3 separate regions of the Homo sapiens genome follow, and regions 1 and 2 are each linked to region 3. Evidence: promoter capture Hi-C in human tissues and cell types (Jung and others, 2019). All regions are on one chromosome and are shown on one strand. Each heading gives the region's core, a stretch centred on a gene start or on the middle of the fragment in contact. The rest is flanking DNA. Distances are from core to core; before and after follow the strand shown. Region 1 has its middle 88 kb from the start of GADL1. Region 2 has its middle 41 kb from the start of GADL1. Region 3 holds the start of STT3B (STT3 oligosaccharyltransferase complex catalytic subunit B).

Evidence for each region. Contacts are between HindIII fragments. The study calls those that stand out against the background at their distance.
Region 1: a contact is called between a fragment that was not itself captured here and the fragment with the promoter of STT3B in region 3, in 1 of the 25 tissues and cell types used here (aorta).
Region 2: a contact is called between a fragment that was not itself captured here and the fragment with the promoter of STT3B in region 3, in 1 of the 25 tissues and cell types used here (aorta).

Annotation. Positions count from the first base shown.
Region 1 is chr3:30,980,824-30,983,523 of GRCh38, forward strand. No RefSeq gene overlaps it. Among named protein-coding and RNA genes, the nearest start is that of GADL1, 88 kb to the left of the region's middle. The HindIII fragment of the contact is 6,870 bases long and covers 1-2,700 here.
Region 2 is chr3:30,934,181-30,936,880 of GRCh38, forward strand. No RefSeq gene overlaps it. Among named protein-coding and RNA genes, the nearest start is that of GADL1, 41 kb to the left of the region's middle. The HindIII fragment of the contact is 5,852 bases long and covers 1-2,700 here.
Region 3 is chr3:31,531,570-31,534,269 of GRCh38, forward strand. It overlaps STT3B (STT3 oligosaccharyltransferase complex catalytic subunit B), which reads left to right and starts at 1,356. Exons shown (of 16, transcript NM_178862.3): 1 at 1,356-1,743. The coding sequence starts at 1,430. RefSeq lists silencers at 679-938, 1,249-1,478, 1,509-1,638, 1,719-1,868 and enhancers at 1,039-1,178, 2,029-2,088. The HindIII fragment of the contact is 7,687 bases long and covers 1-2,700 here.

The DNA of each region.
Region 1 (2,700 bases), core at 92-2,591, 550 kb before region 3:
CCCAGCTAATTTTTGTATTTCCAGTAGACACATGGTTTCACCATGTTGCCCAAGCTGATCTTGAACTCCTAACTTCAAGTGATCCACCCCCTCGGCCTCCCAAAGTGCTGGGATTACAGGTGTGAGCCACTGCACCCAGCCCCCACCCTTTTTTTTTTTTTCAATGGAGTACAAACAAACTTACTTTATGGATGAGGAAACTAAGGCCCAAAGAGATGACCTTCCCAATCATCCCAGCAAAGAAATATTGCTGTATATAATTGCAATTCATGCTTACTAACTAAATCTTATACTTGGTCATAAAACCATCACATTTAGTAACAACCAATTAAATTATTTTATTAATAAAGAAAACCCTGCCTCAGCAAATTATGATTTCCTATAGTTTTTTTTTCCTCAGGTTTTTCATTATTTCACTCAGAAAATATTGCATTTAGGGTTAAGAAAGATTAGCAGAATCACTTCTAACTAATTCAGTGAATAAAAAACTTAAAAAGATGGATTTTAAAAAACCCAGTCATTTGTTTTCAGGAAAGCCTCAAAAATTGACAAGAATTCAAATTACAAATGGAAAATATTCTCAAGAGTTTCATTTTAGTAACTGTACCTGGTGTTAATGATCCACATAGGTGTTGCTTAAAAATGAATGATCAATTTTTGCAAACAACATGCTTGCCAACAGAATGCGGAGGGCTTTCACACACACTGCTCTTAAGTCATGGTTAATTCATAGCCAAGGACACAACTAATGTGAGCAGTAAATAACATCTTGCCATGCAGGTCAGCAGATCAAGAAGGATGTTGTTACCCTGAAAGGGCTCAAGGACATCAGCTAGTGCCTCTTTATTTGTTCTGCTTCTGCATCTAGGACACAGCCTAGCACGGTATGGAGAGTTGACATTCGTGGAATGAATGAATGAACAGATGAAAATATGGGACTGCTGAAGAGGACTGAATTCTCTACAGAGATGTCTTAAAGTTGTTCTCATTGCTTTTACTTTTTAAATTTCTTCTATTTCATTGAGACTATTGAAGACAAAGCTGAGGAAGAATCTTGGGGAATGAATCTTTTGAATAGTGATCTGGTTCAACAGAAAAGGAACTGAAAGAGATAAAAAATTATTAGGCCAACATTCTATATCTTCTGGTAAAGAGTTTACAAATAAATAAAATTTACAAATGTTTTTTCACATTTTATAGTATCCTTTTAAAAACCCAAATTCGTTGTAAGAATCTGTCCAGACAAGAGAAGATTTCCAAATTTACTCTATCTTTAAAATGAAAACTATGCGACTTTGCTTTGCAACCCTATATAGCAAATTCCATGGGGATGGGAAAATAGAATTTATGAGGGATCCATCTCCAAACAGCTTATAGACATTCCTACTAAGGTGCCACCTTCCCATCCTTTGTCACCCAAGAAAATTCCTCAATGAGAACTGATTTTGAGTGGTTGGGAAGAGGAAAGGATTCCTCTTTCCTACCCCCAATCCCTCTACTTACTGGTAGTTTGTTAAAATTCCTTTTAACAAAGGACCAAAATTTTTGTTCCATAAAAATACTTAAAATGCAAATAACTCTGCAAGTGGGGGAAAAAAAAAAAAAAGAAAAACAAAGCTGTTGACTTAGATTCACACTAAGGGGTAAATAGCTTATCAGATCTTTTCCAGAGAGTAGGTTCTGATGGCTACAGGCTCCATGGAGAGAAAAAGGCACTGGGGAAAAGTAGAACAAGTGTTGCCTAATTTACATTTTTGCTTGAGGCTGGCCCTGTTTCTGAATTTAGTGCCTCTACCTGATCAATCCCCAGAGACTTGTTCCTATCATGTCTCCAGCTGCCATTCGCCTTCCTCCATCACCTGTGCCTCCCCTCCTCCTCTACCTGCCTGTTTTTATGCCACCAGCAGTCATTCAATTAAATGCAATTTCAGTTTTTCCCTGTCTGTCTCAACAAAGCCACTCCATATGGGATCAAATGCTAGATAAGAATCTTTTGAGATAACCGTGACCCAGCTGATTAGTAAAGGACTTCGGTCTTCCCTAAGATGGTGTATCACTGGTCAGCTCCTGAGATAGCAGCAGGAGGTTTATTGGAGAGTATGCTCAGAATCAGCACCCCTGAGAGACAGAGGGAAGTCATTGAGGGCAGGGAGAGAAGCTGAGCTACAGTATAGTTGCAGCAAAGGTCTCAGCCAATCCAACCTGGAGATCTAGAGCTGAGAGGGCCCTTCAGAGTTGTTCTGAATTGAGGCAGGAGAGCTGCACCTTTATAACCCTGCACTGACCAGCCACTGAATGTAGTTTGTGCCTGAAAAATGGGTATGATCTTGGGGCAAGACACTCTCTTCAGCCAAGCACAAATCCCAAAGAGGACAATCAGCTAAGGGGCATCAGCCATTAGCACTTCCAGCAGCTGGGAAAATAAGTGCCTCTTTCCTAGAGGGGGATCTTAGGTATCATGATATCCACTAAAATAAAGTTACTGTTCTTTTTAAGTGCAGGCTTTAAATTGGGGCTTAAAAGCAAAAATCACTCATTATTTTGTTAGAAACTTTACCAAGATCTCTTCTTCCTTGCAGAAAAACATGTCACCCATAGTAATGCACCCATGGCTTCCAAGTTGCCAATTCAACACACATGGATTAATCTGCATTTGCAACTGTCACATTCATGATAATTCATGCAGACTTCTGTCTGCTT
Region 2 (2,700 bases), core at 36-2,535, 600 kb before region 3:
CTGTAGCTGTTGTTGGAGTTCGTTTTGAGAATACAATTATGCCTCTAGACATGTACACTGGAAAAGGTTAGCTATAATAATTCAAACAGCATTGCCGTAAAAACATCCTTTCCAAATACGTTGGAGAAAAAGCAAACAAGTTTCTTTTGTGACCACAGGGGGAAGCATCAGCATGGCGTTTGAACAGTTTCACAGCTTACAGGAGAGGTGTTCCTCCTATTTGTGAGTTATGGCAGGAGCAACATGAATAATAACATTTTATTTTCTCCTTGGAAAAATAGAGGGCAGGTCGACATGGGAATGGCAAAACTGTAAAATTCAACAGGTCTAATTCACACTTGATCATGAGCACACGAGTAATGGGACGGGACTTTTGGGGTCTTTAGCAGAGAGGAAACTTGTAGGAAAAATAAGAAGCAAGAAAAACCAGAGTGATCCAGTTCTGTACGATGTGGCAATATTGTATAATTCTTCTAATCTTAAACCTTCTCTTAAACAATTCTTTAAATAACTGAGCTTTTCTTGTTTTCCTTTAATAGCTGTTAAAGTCACTTGAAATGAATGCTCTAGTTTAAACTAAAAAATACCCAGGAAGTGACCATTTAAAAACCAAAAACAAATCTAACCGTATATTTTTAGTCTATATAGCCTTCTTCAATTAGTTTCATATTTTGTCCATTTTATGCCACGACTTGTAGCTTTCTACATGGCTAATGATGCTAATAATAAATTTTGTATAGCATCTTCAACTTTTTCTAAAAGCAGGGTTTTATTTTTTATTTATATTTTTCAGAGACAAGATCTCACTTTGTCACCCAGGCTGGAGTGCAGTGGTCTGATCTTACTCACTGCACCTCTAACTCCTGGGTTCAAGGGATCCTCCTGCCTCAGCCTACAAAGTAGTGAGGACTACAACCATCTGCCACCACACCCAGCTAATCAGAGCGGTCTGTTCACAAATTTCCAGTGAGGCTGGAAACTGGGTATAATTATCTTCAGTTTACAAGTGTGCAGATCAATTAAGTCACCTACTCAAAGTCACATAACTGGGAATAGACTCAGAAAGAACCTAAACCTTCAGATGCCTAGCCCAGGCACTTTCCATTATGTTACACTTCATACAAACAGCGACATAGATTAATAATTAGTGTTTACTAACTTTTGCCTGAAATAACCAAGCTCTGGAATGACTAGACACCAGTTAGCAGTGGCTAAATGAAATGCTGTTTGAGAAGGATTATAAAGCTATATTATAAAGCCATCAGAGCCGTGATGGATGGGATGATAATATCCGTCATGTGTGAGGAGGGGGTTATGCTAACATACAAGCCACGTATTTCCGAATCCTGAAAATTCCAAGATCCTTATTCCGCATTTTGACCGTCATTTTCATTTGCTGTCAACCCAATGTCATGGTCACTTCCTGGACCATTTTTCAGACTAAACCATGTCTAAACTCTCCTTTTTTTCCTACCTCTGTCTACAATCTCTTCTTCTTCCATCTTCCTCAGTACTTGCTCTCACACCTTTGTTATTTAACTTAAGAAACACTCCCCAAAATTCCTCCACCACTTTCTTTTTATTATTATTACTATTTGTTGTTGTTGTTGTTGTTATTTCAATAGTTTTTGGGGAACAGGTGGTGTTTGGTTACATGAATAAGTTCTTTAGGGGTGATTTCTGAGATTTCCGTGCACCCATCACCCAAGCAGTGTACACTGCACTTAATGTGTAGTTTTTTATCCCTCGGCCCCTCCCACCCTTCCCCCCAAGTCCCCAGAGTCCATTATATCATTCTTATGCCTTTGTGTCTTCATAGCTTAGCTCCCACTTATAAATGTGAACATAAGATGTTTGGTTTTTCATTCCTAAGTTACTTAGAATAATGGTCTCCACTCCATCCAGGTTGCTGTGAATGCCATTATTTCCTTCCTTTTTATGGCTGAGTAGTATTCCATGGTAAATATATACCACTTTTTTTTTAAATCCACTTGTTGGTTGATGGGCATTTATGTTGGTTTCATGTTTTTGCAACCGTGAATTGTGTTGCTATAAACATGCATGTGCAAATGTCTTTTTCACATAATGACTTTTCCTCTGGGTAGATACTCAGTAGTGGGATTGCTGGATCAAATGGTAGACCTGCTTTTAGTTCTTTAAGGAATCTCCATACTGTTTTCCGCAGTGGTTGTACTAGTTTACCTTCCCGCAAGCAGTGTCAAAGTAGTCCCTTTTCACCACATCCACGCCAACATCATTTTTTTAAAAAATTATGGCCATTCTTGCAGGAGTAAGGTGGTATCACATTGTGGTTTTGATTTTCCTTTCCCTGATAATTGGTAATGTTGAGCACTTTTTTCATATGTTTTCTGGCCATTCGTATATCTTCTTTTGAGAATTGTCTATTAATGGCCTTACCCCACTTTTTGATGGGATTATTTGCTTTTTCTTGCTGATTTGAGTTCCTTGTAGATTCTGGATATTAATCGTTTGTCAGACACATAGTTTGTGAATATTTTCTCCCACTCTGTGGGTTGTCTGTTTACTCTGCTGATTACTTCTTTTGCTGTGCAGAAGCTTTTTAGTTTAATTAAGTCCCATCTATTTATCTTTGTTTTTGTTGCATTTGCTTTTTGGTTCTTGGTCATGAAGTCTTTGCCTAAGCCAATGTCTAGAAGAGTTTTTCTGATGTTATATTCT
Region 3 (2,700 bases), core at 106-2,605:
CTGAGTTTATCTGGTAGCACTTTATTTTAGCGGACAAGGAGGGAAGTGGGGAAAGGAAAGGAATTATAAAAATACAAGGTAGACGTGCACAAGAACCTTCGTTCTATTATTATTTAGTAAAGTGAGAACTGGAAACAGCTTAACGTCCAGGGTAAGTTAGTTTCACTCACTCGACGGAATGTATGCAGCCGTTAATGTATTTCTGCATTTTCCCATATTTCCAGTGAACATACAGTACTTTCGCAATTCGGAGTACAAACGAAAAAGGGCGAGAGAAGGTCGCATTTTGCCTGCCGGAGCTAGGGGCGCGCTTGCCGGTTCCAACGAGTTTTCGGTGTCGGAAAACTTGTCTTTGCTCACATTCTCGGATTCCCGCGGCCGCAGAAGCCGGAGGCGGGACGTGAAGGGCAATGAGCAAGGTAGGCTGTGTCACTGCCGCCGCGGGCTCACTCGCAGCGCCAGCCGAGGAGCGCCACGGGCTGCTGAACCCCTCGGCCCGACCCACGCGCCGAGGGCTAGGATAATGCGCCTGCGCGGCCGTCACGTGGTGAGGGCTCCGCGCAAAGCGGGTTAAAAGTCACGACCGCGGAGAGCCCGCGAGCGTCCTGCTGGTCGGTGCGGCGCTTTCCGCGTCCTTTAAGACGAGTTTGACCGAGGCCGCTCCGCAGTTCCCGCCCCTCGGCCCAGCTCAGCTCCATGAACCTAGCGGAGCCGCCTAGTACCCTTTCTCGCCGACCGCACAGGCGCGCGAAACCGCGTCTTTCAACTGACAATGAAGCCGTAGCCGCGCAGCTCGGCCACTCCGGGCGAATCGGCGCGAGGCCGGGATGGTGGGGGGGAGGGGGAGACGGTTGGGTCAAGCTCCGCCCCAGCTCGCGCCCCTATTGGTGGGCGCAGCGGTTCTGGGCCCGCCCCCTAACGGACCTGTCGCTTTGTGACAGGCGGAGGGGCCAGTTCCTGTCGGGCCGGAGGCGGAGTCAGAGGTTGCTTGAGCTCCGCCCGGACTCCAGGGGGCTCCTCCCCCTGCTCCTTTCGGCTGGGCGGGCGGCGGGCTAGAGAGGGAATGTCATTGCTTCTCAGAGCCGTGGTGCCGCCTCCGTCTGCTGCTTCTTTCCTGGCGCCCTCGTCCCGTCGGCTTTCGCCGCCGCCGCCGCAGCTGCACTGGGGATACGGATGGCTAGTGGGGCGCCGGGGCCATCTGGGTTGAGAGAGCGGCGATTGCGGCCGCTGCTGAGGCGGAGACTCCCCGCCGCCGCTTCCTCCACCCCCAGTCCGCCGGCCTCGCGGCGCTGAGGGCGGGAGCGCGCAGAGCTCTTCCCTCCTCCTTTTTCTTCCTCCTCCTCCTCCTCCTCCGGGTCCCCGCCCAGCACCCCTCGCACCAGGCGGCGGCGGCGGAGGAGGAGAGCTAGACCCGCCGCCGGGGCACAACATGGCGGAGCCCTCGGCCCCGGAGAGCAAGCACAAGTCGTCCCTCAACTCGTCCCCGTGGAGTGGCCTCATGGCCCTGGGAAACAGCCGGCACGGCCACCACGGGCCCGGGGCCCAGTGCGCGCACAAGGCGGCGGGCGGCGCGGCGCCGCCGAAGCCGGCCCCGGCGGGGCTGTCCGGGGGGCTGTCGCAGCCGGCTGGGTGGCAGTCGCTTCTCTCCTTCACCATCCTCTTCCTGGCCTGGCTTGCCGGCTTCAGCTCGCGCCTCTTCGCCGTCATCCGCTTCGAAAGCATCATCCACGAGTTCGACCCGTGGTAAGTGCCTCGCCGCCCCTCCCCCGCCCGTGGCCCGCGGGGAACCGGGACCCGCTCCTCCGCCCGCCGCAGCTCTCCTCGACTTGGCCCCGCGCCGCCGCGGAGCCCCGCTCGCGTCCTGGCTGAGGCCGGCGCGGATCCCGGAGCTCCGGGCGCGCCCCCTGCCCGTGGGCGAAGTTTGCCCCGTGCAGCCTGAGGCGGGGCGTCGGGGTCCAGGAGCGAAACCTTGATTCTCGGCCGGGCTAGTGTGAAGACTGCCAGGAGTGTGGATGCAGCCGCCGGGAGTGTGGGTGCAGCCGCCGGGAGTGTGGGTGCAGTCCCTCGCAGCCCGCTTTGGTCGCTGAGTCCGGACCCGCCACGCCAGGAGGCGGCAGGTAGCTCCTCCGCGGACTGTCGGTCGATTCCCCGCCCTCCTCGCCCGCTGCTTTCGCGTTCTTTCATATTTGCGGGCGCGTTTTTGCTAGTTCAGACGGAATCGGCCAGGGGGGCTGCCCTGTTGCCGCTGGAGGTGGGTCCAGATGTGCCGGAACCCCGGCTGCTCACCCTTGCAGTTTTACGCTTTTACTGTTTCTTTTTATGCTCTCATGATACGAGAAGGGAAAAGGAGAGTGAATGGCGTGTTGGAGGGAAGGAAATAATACCCCTGAAAGTGATCTGAAAGCTAGCTACTCTTATTTATTTATCATTAGGTATTTTAAAGAGTGGCTTTTTTTCAGAGCTCTTAAGTGCACTCAGCACCTTACTGTTTCACTATCGTCTTGGGTTGCTTTTTAGAACAAGATCCTTACCCTGTTAGCCACTGTCACCCTTAGTGTGTTATGCACAGTATCTGAAAGCATTGCATTAGTTCCTTTATTGGTCTGCAGGAAGGTTTGTGGATAAGAGCAAACAGTACCACGGTGATGGGAGTCCTAGATTGTAATACCGAAGTTGCACATGGTGTAAGGGACTGACCTG